Linked DNA regions of Homo sapiens: all the other regions are linked to region 1. The links are contacts of gene promoters, found by promoter capture Hi-C in blood cells and fetal thymus (Javierre and others, 2016). All regions are on one chromosome and are shown on one strand. Each heading gives the region's core, a stretch centred on a gene start or on the middle of the fragment in contact. The rest is flanking DNA. Distances are from core to core; before and after follow the strand shown. Region 1 holds the start of HAUS3 (HAUS augmin like complex subunit 3). Region 2 overlaps CFAP99 (cilia and flagella associated protein 99). Region 3 overlaps ZFYVE28 (zinc finger FYVE-type containing 28). Region 4 overlaps RNF4 (ring finger protein 4).

Region 1 (3,988 bases), core at 1,247-3,746:
GTCTACTGAACCTGGACCTCTGACTTCATTAGCACTATGCTCTGGTTGGAGCAAACGAGGCAGAATACCCATAATAAAGCAATTAGTTTCTAGCCACATCTTAAAAAGAAAATCTCAGTCCAGTCTGTATCTGCATTACACAAATTTAAAATTCGGAATGCAAATTAAAGCACTTTTGTTTAAAATAAATTAGATAATGTGGTAGAGATTATAATTACTATTGCTGCCCTCCATTAACGTATGGAACTATTTGTATGAAACATTGACACAGATCACAAATAAGCACTGAACAAAGAAAATAAAATGTAATCTCTTCTCAGATGCACCATTCTAAAGTACTTTAACAGCAATATTATCTCCTCTATTCCTAACAATAATTACAATGTGAATCCAATCTCATTTCTTATGCTTACCTTGCTGGTTAGGCTGTGAAGACTCTCCTCTGCCCATTTTATACTTGACTTCATGCTCGAATTACTTGCTTTTAAGTGAATTAACTGATGTTGAGCACAAATGTATGCGAGCTGCAGTCTAGCCATCTCTAGTCGTCTCTCCTCAAGGATTTCTTGATTATCACAAATAGATGGTGTCTGTATATCTAAAAGTTGAAAATTGTCTTCATTTGAACTTTCAACTACTTCATGTATACCCTGAAAGAACTGTTTTTTGGTATACAAAGTTAATGCTGCTGTGCTTTGCTCTTCCTGACTTAGGTATTTTTCCAAGGAAAATTGCGATAAAAATACCAGTGGATTTGTCCCTTGACCTAAATTAGAATGTCTGAAGAACATCATCAATTGTGTAACTTCATCAGTAAGAGCCTGAAGTTCATTACTGATCTTAGTGATCATTGCATTTAGAATTCCTTGACTCTGCTTCAGCTTTTTAGTGGCTTCTTCTTCTTTAGCATTTAACCTCAGAGATTTGTGGCTAGTTACTGAAGCCATCAATTGACATTTATTACGTCGCTGAATTTTTAGGTTCTTTAATTTCAGTAGAGTTTGAACCTCATCCTCTAATTTCTCCAGCTCTTTATCATCCAGTCTAGGTGTCTTCAAATCAGAAGTTTTACACGTTTTAAGAGCTTCATCCAATGCCGCCCCTTCTAGAATAGGCTTGCCTGATTTCTGAAGAATGCTAAAAGCTTCCAATTCTCTTTCAGACAACACGTTCTGTTCATTCACATTCCCACAAAACCACTTCAGAAACGATTCATCTTCAACGCCCTCAAACAACCAGTCAAAGTCTTCTCCATTAAGATTATCAGCTTTGGGATAACCAATTTTTTTTAATGTTTCCACAAACTCATTTCCACAACTCATGGTTTTAACTACCCCAATTTTGTTGTATCTGATATGGGTTTACGGTGTTGATTTTTAGAAAATAAATCCAAGCAGAAAAAAAGCTACGTTTTATACCAAGTCCACAGAGAAGGGAAAATATATTTTTAGAATCTATAATGATTCCTCCTAGGGGGGAAGAAAACAAGTATTAGACCACAAATATGACGACAGTGTTTTTAAAAAGAAGACACAGACAAATATCACATGATATCCGAGAGCGGGATAAATGACAGGTAGTCGTAGCTGCAATGTTTGATGATGATAAAGAGAAACAGAAACAATTAGGCTAGTTCTCAGAAAACCGCAACAGTAACGAAAAGTAATTAACAAGAAAGTGGATCTATTTGGATCCATTTTATCTTTTTTTCCAAAGATAAAATGGTTTAAAATGCATTACACTTTATAGAGCAGCATTTGTTTTTAATTCAAAATAAATGGATCCAAACAAACCCAAGCCACCAGGAGGCTAGGCAGCCTCTCTTCCCTGCCCTCCGTACGTAAGAAGACGCAAATAAGCATGGCACATCTTCTGAAGATCAACTAAATATTTACCTCAACGTCTCGCCGGGCAAGGCTCCACCTCCAGAGTCCACCACCGCGACGCGGAGAACAGCAGGAGCAGCAGGGAAGCGCGCGGCCACAATTAAGGGTGCTTCGGGCCGGCCTTCAGCCAGCGCTGAGGCAGCCCCGACGCCAGGGCCGCGCGAACCCCAGAGGCAGCGGCAAGCCCCAGGGATCCGCGGCCCCAAGGCCGCGATACACCAGACGCGCCAGCGGCAAAACCTTCCTTCGGAGGGTCACCCAGCTGTGACACCTAAGCACGCTGACAAAACAAACGCACAAGCCCACCGAATCGCCGTCGACACCGAGCTGCAGAAGACGGGGGTGACAGGCCCCGCACAGCCCCCGCCCCAGCTCCTCGCCCAGCGGACCGGGCCCTGATCCCCGGGCAGCTGCTGGAGCACCTGGAAGGAGCCCCCAGGAGCGCAGGAAAAAAAAGAGGCACCTGGGTGCAGACGGGGATCGCGGCCACTCCTCCAGCCCCACACCCCTGCGCCCAGAACCGAGGCCCGCGTCAGTCACCTCAGGAAGTTCCGCTTGCTTCTCGCAGGAGCCCGCCGCCACCGCCCTCCGTGCCCCGCGCGCCTCGCACTGCCTCACGGGAGCGCCTGGACGCGCGCAAGCGCACAAGGCGACGGCGTGGTCGTGGGGGATGACTGTTTGCGCAGGCGTAGTGTCAAAAGAGGCGGAGTCGGCGAGGCTGGACTATGGGGTGGAGCTGAGCAGGCGGCGCTCGGCCCCCGGCCGCTGCGGGCATCCTGCCTCCTGGGCGGGGCGCAGGGCAGAGAGAGGCGGGGTCTGGGCCGGGAAGGGCGGGGACAGGGCCTGGACAGGGGCGGGGCCTGGGCAGGGGGCGGAGCCTGGGCAATGAATGGGGTGCAGAGGGGTGCAGAGGGGTGCGGTGGGGCGCCCTCTGGGGAGCTGAAGCTGCGGGCCTGCTCTCAACGGAGCCGTCAGTTGTGCTTCAGGCCTGCCCTGCCCCGTACTTCAATCTAGACCCTCTGAAGGCACTTTTGAATGGTACAAAGAGCAGCGCAGGTTGGTGGTTGGGAGACAGGCTGGAGCCCGGCGGTGATAGCGCTCGCCCCCGAGAGAGACGAGTTCCCGGAACATTCACAGCAGCCCGACCAATGCCTGGTACATTTTAAGGGTTAGGGATTGTTCGCTTAGAGTCTTTTACAATGAACTTTATTTTGCAAAAACACTTAATTTCTAATCCCTCACCAGAACACTATGTAAAAGCTGACTTCTGGCCGGGCGCGGTGGCTCATGCCTGTAATCCCAGCACTTTGGGAGGCCGGGGGGGGGGGGGGGGGGGATCATGAGGTCAGGAGTTCGAGACCAGCCTGGCCAAGATGGTGAAACCCCATCTCTACTAAAAAATACAAAAATTAGCCGGGCGCGGTGGTGGGCGCCTGTAATCCCAGCGACTCGGGAGGCTGAGGCAGGAGAATCGTTTGAACCCAGGAGGTGGAGGTTGCAGTGAGCCGAGATCACGCCACTGCACTCTAGCCTGGGCGACAGAGCAAGACTCCGTCTCAAAAAAAAAAAAAAAAAAAAAGCTGACTTCCTCCACAATTCCCTTTTCAAAATGTTAGAAATAAACGGAATGGCCTGAGTTAAATACATCGATATATTTAACTCAAGGAGGATGGTACACCATTTCCAAAGAGGATGGCAGTCAGTGAAAGATGACTGAAACGGGATTGCTAAATTTCATGTGAATCTGGCTGATGCCCTACAGCCCAGTGAAACCAGACCTCTCTATTGGACAGAATTCGTTTGCATCTCTACCAAACAAAAATCCTTTGCCACTCCTCAGTCTTCCACAGGTTAGCAGGGGCTTTGGTCATGGGTAAATATAATAGTACTCCCTCCCTTCAGCGTCAAATGACCCTAAAGGTGGCTTGTTAGACAATGTCCTAGTCCAGGGTGACTAGGTAGAAGTCGTTTGGATAGTTTTTCTTAATATTTTTAAGGAGAGAAATAAGAATGTTCTAAGGCAAATATTGTAATCTGATCGAGTCAAAGATATTTCCTATTCATTCTTCACTTGTTTCACGTTTTTTTCCTCCTCTTTTAAA
Region 2 (4,315 bases), core at 447-2,946, 210 kb after region 1:
AAGGGCGGCAGGCCCCCCCACCTGCCTTCCACGGCATCACCCTTGAGAGGAAAGGCTCAGAGGAGGGGCCTGGGGGCTGGGCAGCTCAGTGGAGAGGGACTCGGGGGTCACAACAGGCTGTGGTCCTGCAGCAACAGGGGCGACAAGCAGGACTGTGTCAGGGTCCCAGGTGCATCTTACAAAGATCATGCCGGCTCAGTGAGGGGCATGAATGGGGCTGGAGGGACTTAGCAAAGGCCCAACCCACACCAAACCTCCCTTGGGGTTACCTCCTCCCTGGACCCCTTCCTGATGCCCCCATCTCCTAGACCACCAGGGCTGCAAACCCCTGTGCTTACCCCATGCGGTGTGGTCGTGTCTTTCCTTGTCTGCAAGTCAGGCTGTGGGGGGAGCATGGGTGTCTGACCAGATGGTGGAGTGGACGCACAGATGGTGCACAGGGGCAAGGGTGGCCAGGCTAGCAGAGGACAGAAGGTTGATGGATGGACAGATGATGGACACAGGGTTGGTGGATGGACAGACAGTTGGACAGAGTGAGGGTAGACAAACAAGTGGATGAAGGGAGGGGTGGGTGGATGGGGCTGATGGGTGGACGCACAGAAAGGGGGACCAGGGGATGGGTGGACAGTGGGTCGGGGATAGGAGGAAGGGCAGGCCACGCAGCTGGGTGTCAGGAGTAGCAGCCCACGCCTGCGCAGCCACTGTCCCTCAGGAAAACCTGTGACCACCCAGCAGCCTCTGTCACGGGAGAAACCCCAAGCTGTGCTTCTGTCCCTCTTTGCCCAGGGTTGATAAGCTCGTGGATGGGGCTGGGGACTTCTCTGAGTTCTTCGAGTGGCAGAAGAAGATGCAGGCGAAGGACCGGGAGGAGCAGCTGGCTGCAAGCGAGTGCCGGCGGTTGCAAGGGAAGCTTAGCCATGAGGAGGCCGTCCTAGCCCGGCAGAGCCTCATGCAGGAGAACAAGCAGAGGGTGGAGCAGCAGAAGGAGCAGGTGGGTGCCATGCAGGGCAGCTGGGCATGGGGCAGCCAGCTGAACTGTGTGCCCACCGGGAGCTGCAGGGCCAGGGCTGGCAGTGGAGCTGAGTGTCCACAGCGCCCCCGTAGAAGCTACTGATGTGTTGGTCCTGGCTCCTCTTCCTCCTCGAAGGACACACTGCCTAGGTGGGCACGCTCAGCCTGTGTTCCCCGAGAGTGCCTGCTCCTTCCAGTGGGCCTCACAGTGGCCTGGACCAGCGGGGAGCCTCAGCCCCAGGAGGCCGGCCTGTATACTCTCTCCTGGGACGTATCCCTTTGCAGGCCTGCGGTCAGGGACTTGATCAAAGGTCACTCAGATTGCTTCTTTTGATAGTTTCATCTGTGTCTGTATTCAATTTTAAGGTTTGCCTTTTCTTTCCTTTTTACTTTTTTAAAAAAATATGAAGGCCAGGCCAGGCATGGTGGCTCACACCTATAATCCCAGCACTTTAGGAGGCCAAGGCCAGAAGATCACTTGAGCCTAGGAGTTCAAGATCAGCCTGAGCAACATAGCAAAATCCCGTCTCTGTAAAAAATACAAAAATTAGCCGGGCATGGTGGTGCGTGCCCGTAGTGCCACCTACTCGGGAGGCTGAGGTAGGAGGATCACGTGAGCCTGGAAGGTCAAGGTTGCAGTGAGCCGTGATCATGCCACTGCACTCCATCCTGGGCGACAGAGCGTAACTGTCTCAAAAACAAAACAAACAAACAAAAATGAAGTCTAAACAATATGAAAAGGTAGACTCAGAGAAGTCTCACCTCTTGTAAGTCTATAACTTACAACCCATTTCCACCTTCCTTTGTTGGTCCTTCCTTTCATTAATTTCTGGATTACCTTTCCCGTCTTTCGAAGCAAATAACACACTTGTATATACATAGTTTGTCCTTCCCTTTTTTGTTACATAAAAGGTCACACCTTGCTTTATCTGCAAAGAATAATGTGCAAGACTTTCACCTTTGCAGAGCTGGATTTTCAGGGTAAACTTCTAGAGGAAGTTATATTTCCAGATGTCACACCAAAGAGTAACTGGATACGCAGGAGTCCTTGCCGTTTGGGACGCGTGGTTTTACTAAATATGGCCAATCGTCTCCCTGGTACTTTTACCATCTTCACTCCACCAAAGTGTGAGAGGGGTCTGATCCGCATGCCCCGCCACAGAGTGTACCAGGCTGAATTCGTGAATTTGTGCCAATTTCATGGGTCAGAAATAGTATCTTGGTATAGTTCTGATTTGCATCTCATTTATTTATCAGTGAATTTGAGCAAATGTCCACATATACATATATAAATGATTTGTGTCTATTTCTGTGAACCGTCTGTCCATGTCTTTTGTCCATTTTCTATTGCACTTTTGACCTTCATTTCCCTGACTTTTTTTTTTTTTTTGGTTCTTTATTTATTTAACTTGACAAATGCAATTGAATATATTTGTGATATATAACATGATTTTTTTTTTTTTTTAAGATGGAAGCTTGCTCTGTCGCCCAGGCTGGAGTGCGGTGGTGTGATCTCAGCTCACTGCAACTTCCGCCTCCCGGGTTCAAGTGATTCTCCTGCCTCAGTCTCCTGAGTAGCTGGGACTACAGGCGAGCACCACCATGCATGGCTAATTTTTGTTTTTTGGTTTTTGGTTTTTTTTTCTTTTTGAGACAGAGTCTTGCTCTGTCGCCCGGGCTGGAGTGCAGTGGCATGATCATGGCTCACTGCAACCTCCACCTCCTGGGTTTAAGAAATTCTCTGCCTCAGCCTCCTGAATAGCTGGTATTATAGGCGCATGCCACAATGCCCAGCTATTTCTTTTTTTGTATTTGTAGTAGAGATGAGGTTTCACCATCTTGGTCAAGCTGGTCTTGAACTCCTGGCCTCGTGATCCACCCACCTCGGCCTCCCAAATTGCTGGGATTACAGGCATGAGCCACCGTGCCCGGCCTACTTTTTGTATTTTTAGTAGAGATGGGTTTTCACTGTGTTGGCCAGGCTGGTCTCAAACTCCTGACCTCAAGTGATCCACCTGTCTCAGCCTCCCAAAGTGCTGGGATTACAGGTGGAAGCCACCACGCCCGGCCTAACATGATCTTTTGGAATACAAATACATTGTGGAATGGCTAAATCAAGCTAATTAACATATGCATTATCTCACATACTTATTCCTGGTAAGAACACTTACAATCTACTCTCTTAGCAATTTTTCTTTTTTTGTTGTTTTTTTTCTTTTTTTTTTTTGTTTTTTTTTTTTTTTGGTTTTTGTTTTGTTTTTGTTTTTGTTTTTGAGACAGAGTCTCACTCTGTCACCCAGGCTGGAGTGCAGTGGGTTGATCTCAGCTCAGTGCAACCTCTGCCTCCCAGGGTCAGGCGGTTATCCTGCCTCAGCCTCCTGCGTAGCCGGGACCACAGATGCACACCACCATGTCTGGATAATTTTTGTATTTTTAGTAGAGACAAGGTTTCACCATGTTGGCCAGGCTGGTCTCAAACTCCTGACCTCAAGTGATCTGCCCACTTCAGCCTCCCAAAGTGCTGGGATTACAGGTGTGAGCCACCATGCCCGGCCACAGTTTTTCTTTTTTGAGACAGGGTCTCACTCTGTCGCCCAGGCTGGAGCGCAGTGGCATGATCTTGGCTCACTGCAACCTCTGCCTCTCAGGCTCAAACCATCCTCCCATCTCAGCCTCCCAAGCAGGTGAAACTGCAGGCGTGCACCACCTTTTTAGGAGAGACACAGTTTCGCCATGTTGCCCAGGCTGGTCTCTAACTCCGGGGCTCAAGTGATTCACCTGCCTCAGTCTCCCAAAATACTGGGATTACGGAAATGCGCCTCTGCGCCCAGCCTAATGTTCTTTATATGTTAGGAAAAATAATCCTTTATAATAGATTGTTGCAGATTGCTTTTTTTCCAGTTTGTCATTTGACTTTGTATATGAGGTTTATGATGGGTGTTTGCCATGCAAATATTCTTTTTATGTCTTCAAATTTAACAGTCTTTTCTTGTGTTGTGTTTGGAGTTAGAAAATGCCACTCTTGGCTGGGTGTGGTGGCTCACGCCTGTAATCTCAGCACTTTGGGAGGCCAAAGCAGGGCGATCACCTGAGGTCAGGCATTCAAGACCAGCCTGGCCAACATGGTGAAACCCCATGTCTACTAAAAAAACAAACAAACAAACAAACAAAAATTAGCTGGGTGTGGTGGCACACCCACGTAATCCCACCAACTCAGGAGGCTGAGGCATGAGAATCGCTTGAACCCAGGAGGTGGAGGTTGCAGTGAGCCAACATCATGCTATTGCATTCCAGCTTGGGTGAC
Region 3 (4,545 bases), core at 1,112-3,611, 130 kb after region 1:
CAGAGCTGTGCAACCATCACATGATCTAGTTCCAGAACATTTTCATCACCTCCGGAAGAAACCACACCTGTTAGCAGTCATCCCCCTACCCCTTCATCGACTTTATCTCTGGATTTGCATGTCTGGACATTTCCTGTGCATAGAATCATACGAAATGGGGCATTTTGTGTCTGTTACTGTCACAGAGCAGTGTTTTCAAGGTTCATCCACATTACAGCATAAATCGGTGCTTCCTGTGTGCCACTGTGTGGATGGACAGACCACATTTTGTTTATCCAGGCATCTGTCGATGAACACTTGCACTGCTCCCACCTTTTGGCTACTATGAATAGTGCTGCTATAAGCAAGTTTTTGTGGGGACATATGTTTTCAGCTCTCTGGGTATATATCTAGAAGTGAAATTCTTGGGCCATATGGCACTTCTGTGTTTAACTTTTTGAGCAACTGCCAGGCTACTTTCCAAAGAGGCTGCACCATTCAACAATCATAGAGCAGCAGTTGGTGTGGCAGGGCTCTGATTTCCCTATGTCTTCGCCAACACTTGTTATTATCTGACTTTTGAGTTCTAACCACCCTGGTGGCTGTGAAGTGGCCGCTCACTGTGGTTTTGACTCTCATTTTCCCAATGGCTGATGACACTGGGCACCCTTCATTGCTGGCTGACCACCTGCACATCTTCTCTGGAGACCATACACTAAGGGCAGGTGGTGCTTAGAGGGGCATCCCTGCCATCCTTCCTCCTGGTGACATCTGTGAGTCAAGGGTGTGGAACGCCGCACTCTGTGGACTGACCAGATCTGCTTTCTCACATCAGAGCAATCTAGGCCAGGCTGTTCCATCTGGTGAGACAAGGGTCCCCCCTGCCACAGCCACAGGACCCCACCAAAGCCATGGGCAAGTGTGGACTGGGCAATGTGGCACCTTTGTTGTGATTAGGACCTAATTTGCCATAAAGAGAGGCCCTTGAGTAAGGAAAAGGTGCCCCCAGAGCCTACTCTGGGACCTCAGACATGGTTCCTACCCACCCACAGTGGGTCAAATGGTGGTCCCCTTGAAGCATGTCTGGAATGTGTGAATATGACTGTTTTTGGAAAAACGGTTGTTGCAGATGAAAGAGAGGTAAGAATCTCAACCTGAGACCATCCTGGACTCTCTGGGTGGGCCCTAAACCCAGTGACAGGTGGCCTTAGAGAAGGTGAAAGGCACACAGAGGAGAATGCCATGTGAAGATGGGGCGGAGATCGGTGTGACGGGCCTGTAAGAAACCCCAAGGACAGCCGGCAACACCGGGAGCTGGAGAAGGCAAGGAGCGACCCTCCCTCAGAGCCCCCAAAAGAAACCAGTGCTGCCCACACCACGACCTCAGACTTCTGGTCTCCAGAACTTTGAAAGAAGGGATTTTTTTTTTTCTTTTCTTTTTTTTTTTTTTTTTTTGAGACAGAGTCTCGCTCTGTCACCAGGCTGGAGTGCAGTGGCGTGATCTCGGCTCACTGCAACCTCCGCCTCCCGGGTTCAAGCAATTCTCCTGCCTCAGCCTCCCGAGCAGGTGGGATTACAGGAGTGCATCACCAAGCTCGACTAATTTTTGTACTCTTAATAGAGACGGGTTTCACCATGTTGGCCAGGATGGTCTTGATCTCCTGATCTCGTGATCCGCCCGCCTTAGCCTTCCGAAGTGCTGGGATTACAGGTGTGAACCAACACGCCCGGCCGATTTTTGTTGTTTTAAGCACCCCACTGTGTGCGACTTGGTCACAGCAGCCATACAGAATGAAGATGCCCCTCTCCCACAGCACCACGATTACCTGATGTCCCACAGCGGAGAGAAGGGGATTTGCCTGGTCCTGTGTCATCAGGGGCACTGAGAAACCCCATGTCAGTGCGTTTATCCTATGGATCGGCCCTGACCATCACTCGGCCTGAGCCCCCTGGACACACCTGGAGTCAGCAGAGCTGGCCGAGCTGCCCAGCCCATGGATGGGGTGCCCTGGGCCCACACCCCAGCTCACACTTGGGGGTAGGGATTCCCTAAGTGCCCCCAGTGCCTCTAAGAATAGCCATCACCCCACATTCTGGGAGATCTCTTTCGACAAATCTTCCCCCCGTGCAGGTGGGACACCGGCAGGACAGAGGTAGCCCTGGACCCAATCCTGCCGGCCCAGGGCCCAGAGCCCACCAGTGAGATGCAGAGATGGGGCCAGAGGGAGCACCCACCATCCTGGGCATCACTGTACCGGGAGAGGGGTGTCTCCCATGCCTGCTGCCACCCCCACCTCTCGGCTCCCCGGACGTGGCAAGGCCATGGGACCACCTGCAGTGGGCCAGTCTGGGGCGCCAGATTGCACACCACATCCCTCGCCGGCCACCCCTCCTGCCCACACTGTGATGCTGGGCGCCTCTCTGACTGCCCTCAGGAGGGATGGGCACCCAACCCTGCCACGTCCATGTGGGTCACGTGTGTCTCGGATCTTCCTGTGTAATGCAGCATTCCAGGTGCTTCCACTGAGAAGACACGGTGCCCACTGTCCACCACGAAGACCCCCAGGGAAGAGGACCCAGGCCTGGGGTGAACGTGGACGCAGCATGTGGGGCGCAGCCCGAGTCTGGCTCTTCTTCTTGACCAGTTGTTAGGTTTCGGGCCCCGCTCCTTAGGAGAAGTTGCAGGTGGGCGACTTGGAGCTGGAGAGAAGATGGGGAGCTCACGTGGGGGCTGAGTGGGGAAGCAAGCAGACAGGGGATGGGGTGACCACAGGAAAGGGCAAAGCCGCCTGGACACATGGACTCAGCCAGCACCTGGCGGGGCTGATTTGTGTGGTTGCCCGCGTCGTGCTCCCTGGCACATTCTTCTTTTGTACTGTGGTTATTGCTGAAATAATCAAATAATGCAAATACAACTTAGAAGCATTTGACTTATAAAGGTGCCCGCCACTAACAGATGATTAAGACGATTCCATCATTCTTTAAAAATAGCTGTCCTAAAGGAACGCCTGCTCTCACCAATGTGTCATTTTATCAGAGGATAAAAATTATTTGCAAAATAGTCCAGTGAGAGCCTGTACTTTATTTTTATGCATTATGAGAGGAAAAATATTGACGATGTTCCAGAGGCTTGACATATGGCAGGAAAAAGCCAAACGGGTATTCACTCAAGAAAAGCCAGGATAGTATCTGCAGAAAAGTAACTCAGGCACAGGGGCTCCCGGCAGGGCAAAAAACAGACAAACAAACAAACAAAAAACAGAAAACAAAAGAGTACAAAGACTCCCTTCAACAATAGCAGGCAAATAATTAAACCTCTTCAGTGTCTTTAAGGGCTAAAGCCAAACTGGAAAAGACACAGTCTGGCCACTAAGGCTGGCCTGGGAAGGCCACGCTGCGGGTTCAGTCCTAACCCAGCAAACAGCTGGCAGCCCGCCCCCCACCCAGCGTGAGAAGCCGGCCTCGGCGGCAACAGGATGAAGGTTGGGCTCCAGGGCCGTGAGCTGATGGCCGTGTGTCCCCAGGATCCAGGGCTGGACAGCCACACAGGAGCAGCCTAGAGGCACAGACCCCAACTATGACAGTGATGGAGCTGGGGGCTGGCAGGGGTGCAAGGCCATGCACGAGCCTCAGGTCAGCCCAGTGGAAGCCTGGAGGGGCGTGCAGCGTGTGGCCGGTTCTGGTGCGCATGGCCCATGTGGACATCTGTCAGAACTGGGGAGCGGGGAGGAGGGCAAATGTTTTGTTTGCTGTTACCTATTCCCGTGACCAACAGGACCCAAAGGACCTTCCAGAGAACCAGAGGTTTCCATCCTAGAAGGATGGTGGCGGGGCTGAGTCTGGTTCCGAGAAGGACTCGTGAGGGGGTAGGAATGGTCCCACCACCCTCACAGGAACACAGAGGCGTGTCTTCACAGCCCTACGCTGCCTCCCCAGCCCTTCCATCGCCGCCTCCTGCCACCACCGCTCCCGCCATCCTCCTTCTAGTCCTCAGCATGCCCAGCAGGTTCCAGTGCTGGGTCTTTGGCCTCAAGGTTCACCCAACACCTGACTCACCCGATTCGGGTCTCTGCCTGGACGTCACCATCATCGAGGCCTCCTAGCCCCTCCAGCACGGCACCATGCCCTATCACCCCATCATGTGGGAGGGGTACACAGAGGTGCGGGCAGGCAGGGGTGCTGGGGTTCTGAACAGGGCCTGGATTCTGGGAAGGGACCTGATGAGGGAGGGCCTGCGGCTGGGCACGGGTGGGCACTGGCTGTCACTCCCTCCGCAGAGGCAGGGGCAGGCACTCCAGGGCTTCGCTGATTGTGTCAGTTAAACTCCGAGGGTTGGGGCTCATGATGGCAGAGCCAGCTGCCTCCCTGGACCAAGGATGCTGCACACCCCTAAGACCTAGCCTCCCCGAGGCCTCTCCCCATGGCTGACTCACTGCAGCCTGGACCCAGTCCCTACCCAGGGGCCCTCCTAGCACCCCCAGCCTCTCTGCCAGCCAACCTTGGACGACTAGGGAGGGAAAAACCACCGCATGCCCACCAGAAGACCACCACGTCTCTGGGCAGACA
Region 4 (4,405 bases), core at 349-2,848, 250 kb after region 1:
GAAGTAGTAATGGTCTAGCTGGGCCTGCAGGGATGCAGGAGGCTGGTTTCAGAGTGGTGAGGGGTGTGCAGGCCAGGACAGCCACAAGGCACATCTTCAGCAGCCGTATTTGGAAGCCTCAATATCAGTGAAGTGGGAGGAGAGAGGCTTAGGAACAGCCTGGGTGTGGACATCAGGTGTTTCCCTTTGCTCTGCAGGCTGATTTCTCTGTCTTCCTTTGTCAGTAGCTTCTCTTTTCTAAATTCTAAGACACGCTATTGATGTGGCGGGGAGAACAAGCCCCTATATGATAGATGTGCACCCAAATGTAAGATATTTCTTGAGATCAGAAACATTCGTGGATATGAGAACCCAGGACATGTGGTGGATCTGGGACTGTCGTGTGGTCTGAATGATCTTGTGAGTCCTAAGGTGATGTCGAGGCACCTCCCACCTCTGTTGAAACCAACTAGACAAGTCTTTTCCTAGCCAGAGCCTCTTCCCTGAATGTCTGTTTAAAGTTGAACACTTACCAGGTGAGGTGTTGCTTTGAGAAGCATTTGTGCTCCGGGCTGGAGTGCAATGGTGCAGTCATGGCTCACTGCAGTCTTGACCTCCTGGGCTCAGGTGATCCTCCTGTCTCAGCCCCTGGAGTAGCTGGGACTACAAGTGTGCACCGTCACATCTGGCTATTTTTTTAATGTGTTTTTATTTTTATTTTTTGAGACAGAGTCTCTCTCTGTTGGCCAGGCTGGAGTGCAGTGGTGCCATCTTGGCTCATTGCAACCTCCGCCTCCCGGGTTCAAGTGATTCTTGTGCCTTAGCCTCCTACGTAGCTGGGATTATAGGCGCACACCACCACACCCGGCTAATTTTTATATTTTTAGTAGAGACGGGGTTTCGCCATGTTGGCCAAGCTGGTCTTGAACTCCTGATCTCAAGTGATCTGCCTGCCTCAGCCTCCCAGAGTGCTGGGATTACAGGCATGAGCCACTGCCCAGCCTCATTATTTTAATTTTTTTATAGAGACAGGATCTCACCATGTTAACCAAGCTAGTTTCCAATTCCTGGGCTCAAGAGATCCTCCCTCTTCAACTTCCCAAAGTGCTGGGGTTATAGGGCATGAGCCACTGTGCCTGCCCCATTTGTGCATTCTGTTGAGAGCACCCGTAGTCCCATAGTATGGGCCAGCCTAAGGAGATGCAAGTCACCCTTTATTAGAGTGAAACAGTGAAGGGGATTTCCCCTCTAAACCATTGAGGTCAAGCTAGAGAATGAGGCGCTCAGGGAGTGAGATACAGTATGCCATTTTCTCAGAACCAGACGACCAAGTGCTGAAGAAAATGCTCAGCTCAGCTGGGACGGCGGTCCCTTTGGGCATCTCCTGAAAAACCTACTCTGGCCTCCCTTTCTCCTCCTGTACTTCTTGCACACTTAGTTCCTAACTTCGTTATAGCTGCCTGCCAGCACCCTCCTCACCCTTCTCCCCGCCCTAGATTCTGCACAGAGGCTGTGTTTGCTCATTGCTGTATTCCCAGGGCAGGGGCTGTACTGTGAATGAGGCGGGGAGGTATGCATCCTTTCTTAAAGCTGGGTGGGAGGACAGACGTGGTGGCTCATGCCTGTAATCCCAGCACTTTGGGAAGCCGAGGCAAGTGGATCACCTGAGGTCAGAAGTTCGAGACCAGCCTGGCCAACCTGGTGGAAACCCCATCTCTACTAAAAGTAGAAAAATTAGCCTGGTGTGGTGGCACATGCCTGTAGTCCCAGCTACTGGGAGGCTGAGGCAGGAGAATCACTTGAACCTGGGAGGTGGAGGTTGCAGTGAGCCCACTGCACTCCAGTCTGGGCAACAGAGTGAGACTCCGTCTCAAAAACAACAACAACAACAACAAAAAAAAACTGAGTGGGATGTGATATCACACAGCATTTTAGGGCTTGAGCAGAAGGTTGGAGCTGGTCACTGGGAAGGTTTATTTGGAGAGACTGCCAACCTGGTGCTGTGGGGCTGAGTGTGGTGATGGGTATGTGTCAGCCCACAGACACTGAGCCTTTCCAGTGTGCCTGCACTGTTCCAAACACTCTCTTGTAATAACTTCTGGAATCCTCACACACCATTAAGGTAGGTGCAGTTCTGTTCTATAGATAAGGAAATGGGGCACAGAGAAGTTCAATGCCATGCCCCAAGGTCACAGGTTGGGGTTTGCAGGTGCCTGGATTTTATTTTCATTTTTTATTTATTTATTTATTTTTTTGAGATGGAGTTTTGCTCTCGTTGTCCAGGGTGGAGTGTAATGGCATGATCTCGGCTCCTCTGCCTCCCAGGTTCAAGAGATTCTCCTGCCTCAGCCTCCCAAGTAGCTGGAATTACAGGCATCCACCACCACTCCAGGCTAATTTTTTGTATTTTCTAGTAGAGACGGGGTTTCACCATATTGGCCAGGCTAGTCTCAAACTCCTGACCTCAGGTGATCCACCCGCCTTGGCCTCCCAGAGTGCTGGGATTACAGGTGTGAGCTACTACACCCGGCCGATGCCTGGATTTCAATCTCAGTTGCCTGGCTCAAGAGATGTGCCCTAATTGCAGTGCCAGCCTGGCTCCACACACCATGCTTAGGAGTTAGGCCTTGATAAGGAGCCAGGGAAAGTTGCTGCGGCAAATGTTTCGGAAAGATGGCCTGGCAGTAGGGTAGACGGGCACCCAGGGACAGGAGACCCAGCATGAGCAGGCATGGTAATGGTGCACAGGAGGATGACACGGCACAGCACTGGGGATGCACAGAAGGGTGGATGTGAGAGCGTTCCTGTCGTTTCCGCCACCTGGATCCCTCTCACCTGTGTCTGTTTTGCAACTCCATCTCGTTATGCTACTTCAGTACGTTCCATGGTGTGGTCTCTGGAAGCAGCACCTGGGAACTTGTTAGATACGTAAATTGGAGGGCCTAGCAGGCTGTGCTTAACGAGCCCTCTGTGGGGGAGCCTGATACAGGCTCATGCTTGAGAAGCACTCTCCTAATCTAAGCCACTAGCACCCAGCAGTGGGTGGCCACAAGGGTCTTGTCCTTGCTTTGGCTCTCTCTCAACCCTCAGGCTTGCCTGTGCTCAGGGCTTTGTGGCTCCATTAACCATGCGTCGCTGACGCTGAGTTTACCGTGGTCGGCCTCGCTTCTCAGTGAAGTCCAAGGGCCTCGCAGCCTCTGCATCTGGTGATTTCTCTGCCTTTCCTCAAAGCTTCTGCTTGGCTGCCTAGTCCACAGCCTCCCGATTCACCATTCACCTGGTCCCAGCAACAGAAGTCTCAGCTGGACACACAACATGCTTTAGAGTGAGTGGCTCTTGTCTTCTCAACTCCGGACGGCGACAGTGAAATTGTGGGAAGAACCTGAGGCTCTGAGCTGTGGCCTCAGAAGCTCTGTCCCTTCCCTTCTGGTTCCTGAGGAGTTGGTGTGGTCATGTGTGGCAGTCCTGACTCGCACCTCCTCCCAGCAGTTAGCACGGTACCTTGCCAAGGTGGCAGGAGCCAGGAAGAAGAGTAGGAGGTGGCATAATAATTACAATTGCAGGCTTTGGGATCAGGAAGTCCTACATGCGACAAGAATGCTTACTTCCTAAGATGAATATAGGATTAAGGATGTCATTGCGTGAAATAGTAAGCAAATAACCTAGGGACAGGAAGGACCAGTACATTATTGAGCTCAGCTTTGTTTCAATGATGTAAGTGGCAGTATTTATCAAATTAATATCTTTGTTTTTCAGGACTTGAAAATACTGGAAATCTGTCCGGATCCAAATTATTTTGCAAGCCAGATGAGTAACCAGAGGGCATGAAAGGTTGAGAACATTTGACTTCCCTGCAAACCTTGGTATAGATCACTTCCTTTTCTGTAGGAAAGGAAAGGCACCAAAGAGCACAATGAGTACAGTAAGTTTTATCATCTCTTGAATTTTTAATTTTGTAGGGCTAATTAACTACCTTATTCCTTGTAGCACATTAGTGAAAGTGAGTTCCATAATGTCACTTCTAAGTAACCCCACTTCTTGAAGGAGTATGTATAGGAGCTTTCTGGTGGTTACATCAGCTTACTTACCGACATTGAGCTACATTCGAGTCATAAAGGGCAGAGCCCTGAAGACAAAAGGCTGAGAAGGAATAGCTTAGGGTTTGGTAATCTCAGACCTTCACAACAGTTGTCAGTGTCATAGAAATACTAAAACTTTTTGCTTTTTAAAATTGTTTGTAGACTGGGCATGGTGGCTCATGTGTAATCTCAACACTTGGAGGCGTGAAGGTAAAAAGATTACTTGAGCCTAGGACCAGCCAGGGCAACATAGGCCCCATCTCTACAAACAAACAAAATGTAGCCAGGCGTGGTGGGGCGCACCTGTAGTCCCAGCTACTTGGGAGGCTGAGGCAGGAAGATTCCTT

Evidence for each region. Contacts are between HindIII fragments. The CHiCAGO score rates a contact against its expected background, and 5 or more counts as called.
Region 2: a fragment that was not itself captured here is called in contact with the fragment with the promoter of HAUS3 in region 1 in 7 of 17 cell types (endothelial precursors, naive CD4 T cells, M2 macrophages and 4 more); the score reaches 8.0 in endothelial precursors.
Region 3: a fragment that was not itself captured here is called in contact with the fragment with the promoter of HAUS3 in region 1 in 1 of 17 cell types (naive CD8 T cells); the score reaches 5.2 in naive CD8 T cells.
Region 4: a contact is called between a fragment that was not itself captured here and the fragment with the promoter of HAUS3 in region 1, in 3 of 17 cell types (naive CD8 T cells, total CD8 T cells and naive CD4 T cells). The highest score is 6.6, in naive CD8 T cells.

What each region holds. Positions count from the first base shown.
Region 1 is chr4:2,239,625-2,243,612 of GRCh38, forward strand. It overlaps HAUS3 (HAUS augmin like complex subunit 3), which reads right to left and starts at 2,497. Exons shown (of 6, transcript NM_001303143.2): 1 at 2,427-2,497; 2 at 1,896-2,166; 3 at 414-1,469. The coding sequence starts at 1,322. It overlaps POLN (DNA polymerase nu), which reads right to left and starts at 2,497. Exons shown (of 26, transcript NM_181808.4): 1 at 2,427-2,497; 2 at 1,896-2,166. It also overlaps the pseudogene COX6B1P5. RefSeq lists enhancers at 1,680-2,181, 1,788-1,887 and a silencer at 2,568-2,927. The HindIII fragment of the contact is 3,838 bases long and covers 1,143-3,988 here.
Region 2 is chr4:2,451,356-2,455,670 of GRCh38, forward strand. It overlaps CFAP99 (cilia and flagella associated protein 99), which reads left to right. Exons shown (of 16, transcript NM_001193282.4): 11 at 787-991. Among named protein-coding and RNA genes, the nearest start is that of RNF4, 16 kb to the right of the region's middle. The HindIII fragment of the contact is 1,576 bases long and covers 909-2,484 here.
Region 3 is chr4:2,368,436-2,372,980 of GRCh38, forward strand. All of the region lies in intron 1 of ZFYVE28 (zinc finger FYVE-type containing 28), which reads right to left. It overlaps LOC107986249 (a long non-coding RNA gene), which reads right to left. Exons shown (of 2, transcript XR_001741550.2): 2 at 1-4,545. Among named protein-coding and RNA genes, the nearest start is that of ZFYVE28, 48 kb to the right of the region's middle. The HindIII fragment of the contact is 8,792 bases long and covers 1-4,545 here.
Region 4 is chr4:2,486,602-2,491,006 of GRCh38, forward strand. RNF4 (ring finger protein 4) reads left to right here. Exons shown (of 8, transcript NM_002938.5): 2 at 3,736-3,901. The coding sequence starts at 3,893. Among named protein-coding and RNA genes, the nearest start is that of RNF4, 20 kb to the left of the region's middle. RefSeq lists enhancers at 1,472-1,581, 2,933-3,713. The HindIII fragment of the contact is 3,219 bases long and covers 1-3,208 here.